2 separate regions of the Homo sapiens genome follow, and region 1 is linked to region 2. Evidence: promoter capture Hi-C in 16 types of primary human blood cells and fetal thymus (Javierre and others, 2016). All regions are on one chromosome and are shown on one strand. Each heading gives the region's core, a stretch centred on a gene start or on the middle of the fragment in contact. The rest is flanking DNA. Distances are from core to core; before and after follow the strand shown.

Region 1 (6,534 bases), core at 740-3,239, 70 kb before region 2:
ATCTATCATGTATTTTTCTTTCTATAGAGACAGGGTCTCACTAAGTTGCCCAGGCTGGTCTCAAACTCCTAGGCTCAAGCGATCCTTCCACCTTGGCCTCCCAAAGTGCTGGAATTACAGGTGTGAGCCTCCACACCCGGCCTATCATGTATTTTTCTTCTTATTACATTATCTTCGGAGACACTGTTTTGTTTTGAAACGCAGTCTCACCCAGCTGCCCAGGCTGGAGTGCAGTAGTGCAATCTTGGCTCACTGCAACCTCCACCTCCCGGGTTCAAGCGATTCTCCTGCCTTGGCCTCCCAAGTAGCTGGGATTACAGGCACCCACCACCACACCTGGCTAATTTTTTTTTGTATTTTTAGTAGAGATGGGGTTTCACCACGTTGGCCAGGCTGGTCTTGAACTCCTGAGCTCAGGTGATCCGCCTGCCTCAGCCTCCCGCAGTGCTGGGATTAGTGTGAGCCACCACACCCCACCCAGAGACATTAATTTCATGCATGCATGACATCCCATCAAGTGAATACATCACAGTTTACTTAGATTTGTTGATCTGATCAATTCCTTTTCTCAGTTTTCTTATAACAATAATTTCATCTGAACAGAAGACCAAAGCAAGTGGTTTTTACAGCTGCCAGAACGTGGACCTGCAATTCCTTGTTCTGGTGAGAGATGAAGTGAGTGCAGTCTCTGGGTGAGCTGCAGGATCCCAGTTGCCCCTCCAGGCCAGCAGGGAAAAGGAAGGGAAAGGTGGGCTAAAGCTGATGAGTTCTGATCAAGAGTGAGAAATCGATCCAATCAGCTATGACAAAAAGTCTTCAAAAATATGAACACTATCAAACGATTCATTGCTCTCAAGGTCTATGGGACAATCTTTCTCCCATCTTCCTCAGGCTAGTAACAAGCTGAACCAAGGCAGGCTCCACATAAACACACAACACCCCAATCCCTCACCCAAGGTGTGACGTACCATATCATGGCAGGACTCCACATCCTTGCCGATACCATGGCTGATCAGAGGTGGCTGAGAGGAGCAATTGATAAGAGATACAAATTCGTTCTTGTTGTTTTTGGGGAAGTCTTTGTATTCAACCTAAGGGGGAAAAGAGAGCTGAGGCTAGGTAGGGAACAGCAAGTATGAGTGGGCTGGAGGGCTGCAGCTCCAGGCCCCACAAGCAAGATCACCAGCTCTTTTTTCCAACTCAGCCCCACTGTGGCCATACTAACACCTGCCCTGTCAGCCCAGAACCTTCCAGGAACCTAGGTGTCTGCTCAGAAGCCCAAGACTGGGAGAAGCCATATCCTTTCCTACCAGACAGAAAGTGTCAGCACGATGAGTCTGTTCTTTGAAATCCAAATTTACAACCACTGCTAGTGGTTAGAAGCTTTTAGGGTTGGCTTGCATGTTGAAATCTTACTACCAAAGGATAAAGATATTTCTCTTACCACATATGCTTACAATACTTCTATACCTCCTACCCTTCCATCACTGCTCCCCAGCCCATCCCTGGACAGAACTTGATTTAAGAAAAAAGTACAAAGTTCAAAGTTCATTTTCTGAGAGAAGCCAAAAGATGACTGTCCTGAGGCACAGCCATCACAGCTCAGGCCAGACAGTTACCTGGAATCCCTGGACTCTGGAAAGATAGTCCAGTTGCTCAGAGGGTCTCGTGAGAGGTCCATGGGGTACGTGGCCTGAAGAGATGTTATTCTTTAAAATGGTCTCGGCTGTGGGCGAGGTGCCCCCATACAACAACTCTCGGGCTATCATGGCAGTTACCGTGGCCTTGGCAGGATTCGGAGCTGCCCTGGTAAAATCTTTGGTGTGATGTCCTTGACTAACTCCTACAGCCTGGGCGACCTCGGGCACCATGGGAAGAATTCCAGCAGGCAGCTGCTGATGACTTAGATAAGGCATCCTGAACTCATCCTCTTTATTACCTGGGAGGGACATACACGGTAAACACGAATCCACATCCACAGCCTGGAAAAACGCAATGACACCATCAAACCCCACGCTGGCCCTCCCCTTGGCACGCATGGCAGCGCAGGGAATCAGGGAATGATAAAGACACTTTGCATGCGGGACCTCACTGGCTGGGCTCCTGCTGTTATTCAGGACCCATGCAAATCCCAGAATCACGTTCAGAGGAAGACGATATTAAGATCACACTTACTAGTCCCATTTTCATCCCCAGAGCCAGGTTCAAAAAAGGTTACTTTTCTTCCATCCCCTGGTTTCTTTATGGGTGTCTTAAAAAAGAAGAAGAAAAAAAAAAGGCCATGAGCATAAATCAGATCACTGAAAAATTAGCTCCTGCTGTCTAAATCTACACAAAGTCCAGTCAGCAATAACTGTGGCAATCGGCAGAAAAACCCTGCCCCACCTGACCACTGGCACCCTGACAGACACCTGGGCAGAGCCTGCCTCCTTCTCCTAATGCACCCTCCTGCCCACACCCCTGCCCACAAAGAGCATCTAACAAAGTGCACTAACCTGTGAATGCTGAGCTGCACTCTGCACCCACAGGAAGACGGGAAGCATTTAACCAGAAAGAGCAGAGATGCTAGACGGTAGAGCCCACCAAGGTGGGGAAAGAAGCTTTCAGACTGAAGCTAAACAAATAAATCAAGAATATTTCCTGGAGCTGATATCCAATTAAAAAATAAGGTGACATTCCAAAATTAACACCCTTACGGGGAAAATGTTATTACCTAAGAATTTTGTCTAACACAACATCACCTTTCTAAGAAGTAACAAAGGACACTCTGAATGTCCTACAAGATTCTGAAATGAAAAACCCTAAAGCCAAGTCTAAGATCTATACTGGTGGTATCTGGGGTCCCAGTCAGTTATTAACTGGCCATGACTGATGCTGTTTCTGTCAATATGACTGGCAGACATGAATGAATCAGGCCTGATTTCAAGTTTATCTCACCAGGACCATTCAGTGATGGGAAAGAAGAAGGTCAGCCATGGCTTTTGCTGAGGTCCTGCTTACCACTTCTGGCAGACACGAATTTTTCTTTTTACGTTCCTTTTTTGTTGTTGTTGAGACAGGGTCTGTCGCCCAGGCTGAGTGCAGTGGCATGATCACAGCTCACTGCAGCCTTGACCTTCCAAGGCTCAATCCTCCCATCTCAGCCTTGTAGCTCGGGCTACAGGTACAAGCCACCATACCTGGCTGATATTTTAATTTTTTGTAGAGACAGGGTTTCATCATGTTGCTCAGACTGGTCTTGAACTCCTGGATTCAAGGCCTCAGCCTCCCAAATTACAAGTTTGAGCCACCACACCTGGCCGTGAATTTTTCAACAGGGGATTATTTTCATCTGATGTTTAACTCACATAGGAAAAAAGAAATCCCAAACCTAAACTTTGGATTTGGCCTGTCTCTACTGTCACACTGTCTTATTTTGCCAGAAAAATCAAAGCCTATTCCACAATTAACGAAAGCCTAACAGTTATAAATCTTTCACACAGGCTTCATTTCTAGAGTGCAAATCACACTTAGTAATTTCAGTCCTAATTACCCTTCATCCTCATCCTACAAATAGAGAGGAGCAAGCTGCCCTCCACAAAGCGTCCCCAGACCACAAAGATACTGACACAATCAACGATCTAACCCAGAGCCTCCTGGGGCCAGTGGACATGCGAGGCCCCTCTGAGCACATTATGGTCCAAATGGATGAGACACTCCTCAGCAGGACTCCTTGAACTGTCAGGCAGATAAAGCCTTGCCTTGAAGCCTGCCCCTGGAGGTGCCCCAGTTCCCTAGGGTGAGGCGAGAGACCATCTTGCAATCAGAGAGCCCACAGCACTCACCTTCTCCTCTGACTTGAGTGCGGGTTTGGTGGGCTGCGCCTGCGGGACTTTGAAACCAAGGATCTCCAGCATGTTCTCGGCTGCATTGCGCTTGGCCACCTTCTTGTTGGTGCCCGTTCCTTCTGCAGTGTGGTTTCCAACCTTCACCTGCACAAAGAAGTCAAAACACAGACCAGTGCTTAAACCTTCAGAATAACAACCAGGCAGGAATTGGTGTGTCAGCAAAATAACCAACTATGGTCAGAAGCAAGATAACAGCAGTGCCCCGAACCTGGCCTCCTTGTCTCTGAGAGCTAATTATTAAATAGTCAGGAGTTTGGGAAGCTGGCTGTTAAACACAGCCAGTATTAAACATTTAATTATATAAGCTGATAATTATTTTAACAGAGGTAATTTTTGACTGCATTTTATAATCATCTGTGTTCTGAGGGTCTGCCCAGCTATTGCATTTGTACAATGGAAACAGTCTGTGATGGTGAACTACTGTACATCTATTCCCAGCATTGCCATTGGAAGTATCACTTTGAGAGCTTGAAATCAGCCATGGTGGGACTATTTATACCACAGAAATATACAAATGCTACGTATCAAAGATCATAAGCTGTTTATTGTCTAACTCTAAACCTACAATGATGAAAAGGTTAATAAAGCAGGTTAATCTTAAAAGCATGAGAAGTCTGCAGCCATTACATTGTAACTAGCACAAAAAACTGAAATATCTTCCCGTCTTTGAAAATTATCTAATTTTGCAGAGAAGCCACTCATATCATTTACAAATGAGTGATGTTACATGTCTTCATTGTTTCACTTTTTCTTTTTTCTTTTTTGGGATAGACAGGGTCTCACTTCTTCACCCAGGATGGAGTGCAATGGCATGATCTCAGCTCACTGCAACCTCCACTTCCCAGGTTCAAGCGATTCTCCTGCCTCAGCCACCCGAGTAGCTGGGATTACAGGCGTGTGCCACCATGCCTGGCTAACTTTTCTATTTTTAGCAGAAATGAGGGTTCACCATGTTGGTCAGGCTGGTCTCGAACCCCTGACCTCAAGTGATCCGTCATGCTGGGATTACAGGCGTAAGCCATCAAGCCCAGCCTGTTTTACTTTCATCTTACCTATTAACATAAATAAAAAACATCAACCAGCCGGGCGTGGTGGCTCACGCCTGTAATCCCAGCACTTTGGGAGGCTGAGGTGGGTGGATCACCTGAGGTCAGGAGTTCGAGACCAGTCTGGCCAACATGGTGAAACCCCATCTCTACTAAAAATACAAAAAGTAGCTGGGCGTGATGGTGGGCACCCGTGAATCCCAGCTACTCGGGAGGCTGAGGCAGGAGAATCACTTGAACCTGGGAGGCAGAGGTTGCAGTGAGCCGAGATCACACCACTGCCCTGCAGCCTGGACAACAGAGCAAGTTGACTCCATTCCCCTCTACCCCAAAAAAAATGTATCTCAACCAGTATTCATGCTACAACCAAAATCTCAAATCTACAGTATGTATTTGTCAGTGACATGAGCAACACCTTTGCTGAACTGGATAGTAATAAACCATTATGTGCTGTCTGATTTTATAACACTATCGTTGGTAACTGTCACACTGAAATATGTATGAAATTTACAATAAAGTGTATATTATTTATAAATTGTACTACACATCCTTTCTGTCAGTAAAATTTATAAAACACACATATATGTCAGTATAATTTATAACACACATCCTTTGTGTCAGTAAAATTTATAACACACATGTATATAACACCCATGTATATATCTATAACATACATATTCAGCTCATTCCACCAAACCACCCTCCCCGAAGAAGAGCTGGTTGTTAAACATGTTCCAGCACATCACTACTTACAACCCCCTTCCAAGTTGATTGTAATAACAGGCACCTGGCTGCTAAAACCAAAAGCCCAGGTCACAAGACTCAGAGAGTCAAAGAAACCATTCCCTGGCCTGGGACTAAATTCCAACCTGGCCATCTACCAGCCATTTCATCTTGGGCAAACTACTGATCCTCTCAGCAAACTGCAACTTCCTTTTGTGGAATGAAAGGATCATTCTTTTCCTACCTTCTGACTGCATAGGTAAAATATACGAGGTCAACTTTCTAAGTTATAAATTGCTATACAAGAGATAAGGATTCTGTCTTACATCAGAAAGCACTTAAATTCAAATCACAATTAAGTTAAGCTGCCTATGTGAAATGACCACTTAGCTTTGAACTTAATCAGCTAAGTACAAAGAAATGTTCCATACTAATCTGAAGTGTCACCCAATCTAAGGAAGAGGTAACCCTAGATTCCAGACTCCATAAGAATTAGGAGGAAGAGGAACAGATCTCTTGATACTACTTACAAAATTTACCTTTGGTAAAGAGCAATGTCATAAACCTTCAAGGAGATGTAATGAAGAAAAACTTCTCCCAGCACCCACCACCCCAGGACTCTTTCTTCCAAATTTCAGTGCAACACACCCACATTCCCACCAGTGCACCCAGCAGTAGTGCTGGTGTGCAGACATTACATTCATTTTTTTAAGCATTAAGATAAACAACTTAATCTTTGATATGTAGCCTTTACAGATTTCTGTGGTATGTTTAAGCTATCAAATTATTGCAAGCCACAAGGTCTTAATAAGGATCACAGTTGGCTGGGCGAGGTGGCTCACGCCTGTAATCCCAGCACTTTGGGAGGCTGAGGTGGG
Region 2 (6,077 bases), core at 2,409-4,908:
CTTAAAAGTTTTACGTTAAGCTTAATGGGAAGCACTACACATTTTTAAAAATGTGTTGTGTCCTTTCCCAGATACTAAATTGGCGTTTCTTTCCTAAATCAATTTTAAGAGGTGTATCTTTCCCCATCTTCCAGGTAGTCATAACTAAAACATAACATGTAACATTTCCACTGTACCTGATCAAGCTCAAAGTACACCTACAAAACTCAAATAACAGACCTAAAAGCTGAAAACTATTCACGACCAGAAATTTGAAAGTTATGCAACAAAGACATTTATAATATTTATAATATTCCTGTCAACTTCCATTGTAAGAGAGATCCTTTAGACACAAGAAAGAAAAACGTGAACACTTATGCTGTGATTTCATACTATTCACAAAAATTAAGGTTTCATTCATATTTGCTAAATTTGTTATTTGGAAATAGGGCAGACGGGGGCACTTTGGAAAACAATTCTATGTTAGAAGATTATCTTTTGCTTAATTCTTAACCTAAGGTAACAGCAGTATCTTTACACAACTACTGTAAAGAAACATTTTAAGTTTTCATTATGAATTATTAACTGTAGTTTAACTTTGACACAAAGTTATCTCTATTAAAGTGGGTTAAAAGGCAGGTCTCTGCCAAAACAGGACTGGGGAAATCTGTATTTGTTCGCTTTTCAATTATAGTCATTAATAGCTCAAGAATTTTTGCTTTTGTACACAATAAAGCAGCAAGGTTGTATTTTGATTTTGAGGAGCTGAAGGCATTGGATCAAGAGTTAATTTTCTTCTTCTTTTCTGCTGTACAGAAATCATGTATAAACAGAGAAGGGAAGCCCAACAAACAAAAATGAGAACTATTATTCTACTAAAAGTAAATTTTGTGACCTTAATCTGGGGCAATCTGGTAAAAGTCAAAATCGCTAATGTTGTGACACAATGTTTAAGATTTGTTTCAAAATAATCTAGTTTGTGTGGGGGGATACAACATGAAACAAAACCGACCTTGGCTATGAGTTAATAATTGTCAAAGCTAAGTGAGTGACTAACACATGGGGTTCTCCATACTATTCGAGTTTCGCATGTTTTCCAGAATAAAAGGTTTTTAAAAAATGGTATTTAAAATACCATTTCCCTATTGAAATATGCCATTGTGATATGGCAGTATTAGACATGCTTTATACTGCTTGTATAGTTGTTTGCTTATGTGTTTTTTTTGTTTTGTTTTTTTGGAGAGAGTCTCTCTCTGTCGCCCAGGCAACCTCCACCTCCCGGGTTCAAGCGATTCTCCTGTCTCAGCCTCGGGAGTAGCTGGGACTGCAGGCGCCCGCCACCACACCAGGCTCAAGAGATAGTCTCCATCTCCTGACCTCGTGATCCACCCGCCTCGGCCTCCCAAAAGTTCTGGGATTACAGGCGTGAGCCACCGCGCCTAACCTGCTTATGGAGGCCTAGGAGGGTGGATCACGAGGTTAGGAGTTCGAGACCAGTCTGGCCAACATGGCAAAACCCCGTCTCTACGAAAACTACAAAAATTAACACGGCGCGGTGGCGGGCGTCTGTAATCCCAGCTACTCGGGAGGCTGAGACGGGAGAATCTTTTGAACCAGGGTGGCAGAGGTTGAAATGAGCCGAAATCGCGCCACTGCACTCCAGCCTGGGCGACAGCGTGAGACTGTCTCAAAAAAAAAAAAAAATTCAAACAAACATTTTAAATTACAAACAATGGTAAGACTGTCAGAAAATTCTAGGAAAATGTCAAAAACAAGGAGGCCACTTTGCCGCATGTGTGTTAAGAGATGGGTATAAATCAAAATAGTTTCAGTTCACTAAGGAAATTTAATGCCTAAAACAATCCTAAGATACAGGAGGATCACTCAGGTAAACACACACTCCTTACTCATATAAAATTGAACACCCATAAGTTGCATTTCCTTAGAGTACACCTATAAAACTAAGTACAGAATTTTTAAAAACCCAGTATGTTTTAGTAAAGTTGCTGTTCTAAAAATCCCACCTGTCACCAGGATAACCGAAACTGCTCCCTCTACACTCCAACTGTATTTTTAGTTTTTACCTCAACAAGTAGCAATGCAATTTACACTTGGTAAGCACGGATTCCTGAAACGCCAAAATCAACCGGGAACCTGATTTAACTCCACCACGCTCTTAACAATGAAAGCTACAAGCAGAAGAGAAGTGTGACCTTAAAAACTTCCACACAGCCGAAGAACAGTGGCAGAACAGACTGAAGCACGTATCTTCGCGGAACAGAAGAAAACTTCCACACAAGCAATACTGCAACACGGAGGCGGGGCAAGGGCTTAAAAGGAAAGTCAGCCAACAGGGAGGGGTGAATATAAGCAAAGCTTCCGTGAAAAAAAACTTATCGAGGTGTAGAGCAAGACAAGACAGACAAATTTTTCCATCTCCGTACACCCCCCTTCAGAGCCCAACACACAGCAAGTGCTCTAGATAGGTTTGCTCAACTCAAGGGAAGCTTCTGCCAGCAACTTTCCCAGAAATGGAATGACAAGAAGAAGCTGGATGATGGCGGGGCGGGGAGAAATGGACAGGTTGCTCATCCTGCGGGAGATGGTGAATATCCTGCAGTTGCCTAAGCGGAGATGGAAAGAAACAGCATCCATCGTTTACAGACTGTCAACTACAGTGTCCCAATTAAGCGTACGCCCCTTTCAGATGTTAACAACTGAAAACAATGCCCTGGCTCTGGACATGGGCACGCGGAACACTGCAGCCTCTAAGAAACCCAAACGGATAGGTAGGTCAACTTCTATCCACTCTGCCCATTAAATTATACCTTCATATCACGCTAATAAATTATGCAGACGGTTTACTGGGACACGCTGTGGGTCTGGCACTCTGATAAGCGCTTTACACGCCCCATTTCACTGAACCTTAAGAGGCAGGGACGGTATTAGCAGCCCCTTTTCCAACCAAGACACAAAGACTTTTTAAGTGTCTTGCCTAACGGGGCAGAGCCGGGTTCGGCACCCGTTTTGGACACCTGGGCCGTGCTCTTAACCACTAAGCTACAGACCTGGGCCGGCGACACTGAGAGGCTCCAGCCCTCGGGGACCTGAAGCAGGGACCCCCCCCCCCCCCCGCCTGCGCCCCAGCCCCGGGAATAACTTCGGCATCCCCGCGCGCGCCATGCGGGACGAGGAAAGGCGGCCGCAGCACCTGTTTGTGGCACCGGTGAGGGCTGGAGGGGATGGGGGCGCCCGGGGCCAGGCCTCAGGGCGCCCCGAGGCGAGGGAACGCAAGAGGACCCGCCTCCTCCGGGAAGGCCCCGCGGGCTAGAGAGAGGCCCGGGAGAAGGCGGAGGGGTGCGCGGGCCCGCCGAGGCCTAGGCCCCACCCGCCGCCCACCTCCCCACCGCGGCGGCGCCCGCGAGGGCCCCACCAGGCCCGGCCCGGCCCGGCCGCCTCACCTGGCTGCTGCTCCGAGCTCGTCCCCCGGCCGGCGGTCCTGGGCGGTGGCGGCGAGGAGGGGAAGGAAGAAGGAAAAAAGGGAGAGGAAGAAGGGACGAAGGGAGGGAAGAGGCGGAGTGGCCGTGGAGGAGGCGGGCGCCGCCGGGCCGGGGGGGGGAGGCGGTCAAAGGAAGCGGGAGCCGAGAGAGACGCGGCAGCCGCCGGCGCAAACGCTGAAGAGCCGCTCAGGCGCCCGCAGCCCGGCAGGAAGTGACGGGGGAGGGGCAGGCGCCCGCCCCCGGCCCCCGCCCGCCTCCAGGCCCGGCCCCGGCCCCACCCCCACCCACGGTCCGAACCACAAGTTCCGGCTGGCACTGCGGCGGAGCCTGCGCTCGCAAGGCACGCCGGGGGCCCAGCGGGAGGAGCGCCCTGTCCCGCCTGGACCGCAGCGGCCCGTCCTGAGTCCCGGGGCCTGCCGGGAGTTGTAGTTCTGGTGGGAGTTTCGCGCTGCCTGCTGGACTCGAAGCGGGTCTGGGAGAACCCAGCCTACCTTCTTTCCTCCTCCACTTCCTTTTTCCTTCCTTGCTGTCGCTTCTTCCTCTTGTCCTGCCTCTGGCCTTCCTTTCTCTCCTTCCTGCAGTTGTTTCTTCCTCCATCTGTAAATGTTCATTAAATGCTTGCCATATGCAAGGCATTGCTCCAAGAGCTAAGAATGTAGTGGTGAACTGACAAAAATCCCTGCCCTCGTGGAGCTTACATTCTTGTGTAAGTAAAATACACAATAAATAAAATTGAAAAATGTGTAGTGAGATAAAAGACAATGGCCCGGGCGCGTTGGCTCAGGCCTCTAATCCCGGCACTTTGGGAGGCCGAGGCGGGCGGATCACTAGGTCAAGAGATCGAGACCATCCTGGCTACCACGGTGAAACCCCCGTCTCTACTGAAAATACAAAAAATTAGCCGGGCGTGGTGGCGGGCGCCTGTAGGTAAACAGCTACTCGGGAGGCTGAGGCAGGAGAATCGCTTGAACCCGGGAGGCGGAGATTGCAGTGAGCTGAGATCGCGCCGCTGCACTCCAGCCTTGGCGACAAAGAGACACTGGTCTCAAAAAAAAAAAAAAAAAAAAAAAAAAAAAAAAAAAAAAAGACGAGAAGTGCCAGATTACTATTTATTTCACCCAGACCTAGATAAACTAAGTGGTTTTTAGCAGCTGTATTGTATGGGAGGTTGGAGAGAGGGTGGCCAGTAAAGAATCTTGGCCAGGCGCAGTGGCTCACGCCTGTAATCCCGGCACTTTGGGAGGCCGAGGTGGGCGGATCACCTGAGGTCAGGAGTTCGAGACCAGCCTGACTAACATGGTGAAACCCCGTCTCTACTAGCCGGATGCAGTGGTGGGCGCCTGTAATCACAGCTACTTGGGAGGCTGAGGCAGGAGAATCTCTTGAACCCGGGAGACGGAGGTTGCAGTGAGCCGAGATCACGCCATTGCACTCCAACCTGGGCAACAGAGTGAGACTCTGTCTCAAAAAAAAAAAAAAAAAAAAAAAGAATCTTGAACTTCTGCACACTCAGCGAAAATTATGCTCGCGTTGTGAGAGGTCCAAGAAACTGAGAATGAATGAAGGAACTGCAGGTGCACAGAGCTTCTCTCTCCCGCTCACTCTGGGACTGCCGCCCCACTATTTAAAAATAATTCTCTCTTTCTTAAATGTCTCTCAATCTAATAATTGCTCAATCTCTCTTGCCAACGGAATATAAATTCAAAATACGAGCTGCTGTGTCTGAAGAGGCCCCTCCAAACAAGGCTTTGGAGCCTTAGCGAAGCCTGGGAGGACACTTGCCTCCTTACATTGCTTCTTGTGAAGTGCAATGACACTGAATTTCAGAACACCAAAAATAGTCAAAGGACTTTCACCGTCCCTTTAGTGCCCATCCAAGACAGTAGTAAGCAACATTCAGATATTGTCCAGCCCTCTGCTAAAAGTGATCTTTTCTTTCTAACTTCCAAGCAGTGTGGATCCCATACCTCCTTGGGTAAAGGAGCAGATGCAGAGAGGTCTCCCTAAACCCAAAGCTGCGCACAATCAGACAATCTCGTCAAAGGTGATTTTGCTATCACCCATAGGGACAAAAGTGGTGGGTCTATGACTTCCAGTCTCAATTTTCTTCCCTCTTTCCTCCTTCCGCATCTTTTTTGTTTTTTTCTTGAGACAGGGTCTCGCTCTGTCACCTAACTAGAGTGCAGTGGCATGAGCACAGCTAACTGCAGCCTCAACCTCCTGAGCTCAAGAAATCCTCCTACCTCAGCCTCCTGAGTAGCTGGGACCACAGGCATGTGCCACCACTCCCAGCTAATTTTTTAATTTTTTATAGAGACAGGGTTTTACTAAGTTGCCCAGGGTCTTACTAAGTTACTAAGTTGACCAGGCTGGTCTCAAATTCTAGGCTCAAGCAATCCTCTTGCCTCAATCTTCCAAAGTACTGGGGGGATTATTCCAGGTGTGGGCCACCATACCTGACCAGGAGTAGGTCACCTAGATTTGTTTTCTTCTGTTTGTACCTAGAAACTATCAGTCAAGTTCTCTTCCAAGGTCCTGAAGACCTCTTGAGTCTTGCTAAGTAATTAAGGAATCATTTTTCTTTACCTTGAGAAAAAG

What was found. The method cuts DNA at HindIII sites, captures the fragments that hold promoters and counts their contacts. A CHiCAGO score of 5 or more calls a contact.
Region 1: a fragment that was not itself captured here is called in contact with the fragment with the promoter of STAU1 in region 2 in 2 of 17 cell types (naive CD4 T cells and activated CD4 T cells); the score reaches 5.4 in naive CD4 T cells.

The regions. Positions count from the first base shown.
Region 1 is chr20:49,116,158-49,122,691 of GRCh38, forward strand. It overlaps STAU1 (staufen double-stranded RNA binding protein 1), which reads right to left. Exons shown (of 14, transcript NM_017453.4): 9 at 3,825-3,971; 10 at 2,176-2,251; 11 at 1,620-1,939; 12 at 969-1,091. Among named protein-coding and RNA genes, the nearest start is that of STAU1, 69 kb to the right of the region's middle. RefSeq lists a silencer at 1,600-1,757. The HindIII fragment of the contact is 1,217 bases long and covers 1,382-2,598 here.
Region 2 is chr20:49,184,676-49,190,752 of GRCh38, forward strand. It overlaps STAU1 (staufen double-stranded RNA binding protein 1), which reads right to left and starts at 3,659. Exons shown (of 14, transcript NM_017453.4): 1 at 3,441-3,659. RefSeq lists an enhancer at 2,403-2,472 and silencers at 2,873-3,032, 3,263-3,932. The HindIII fragment of the contact is 4,529 bases long and covers 2,485-6,077 here.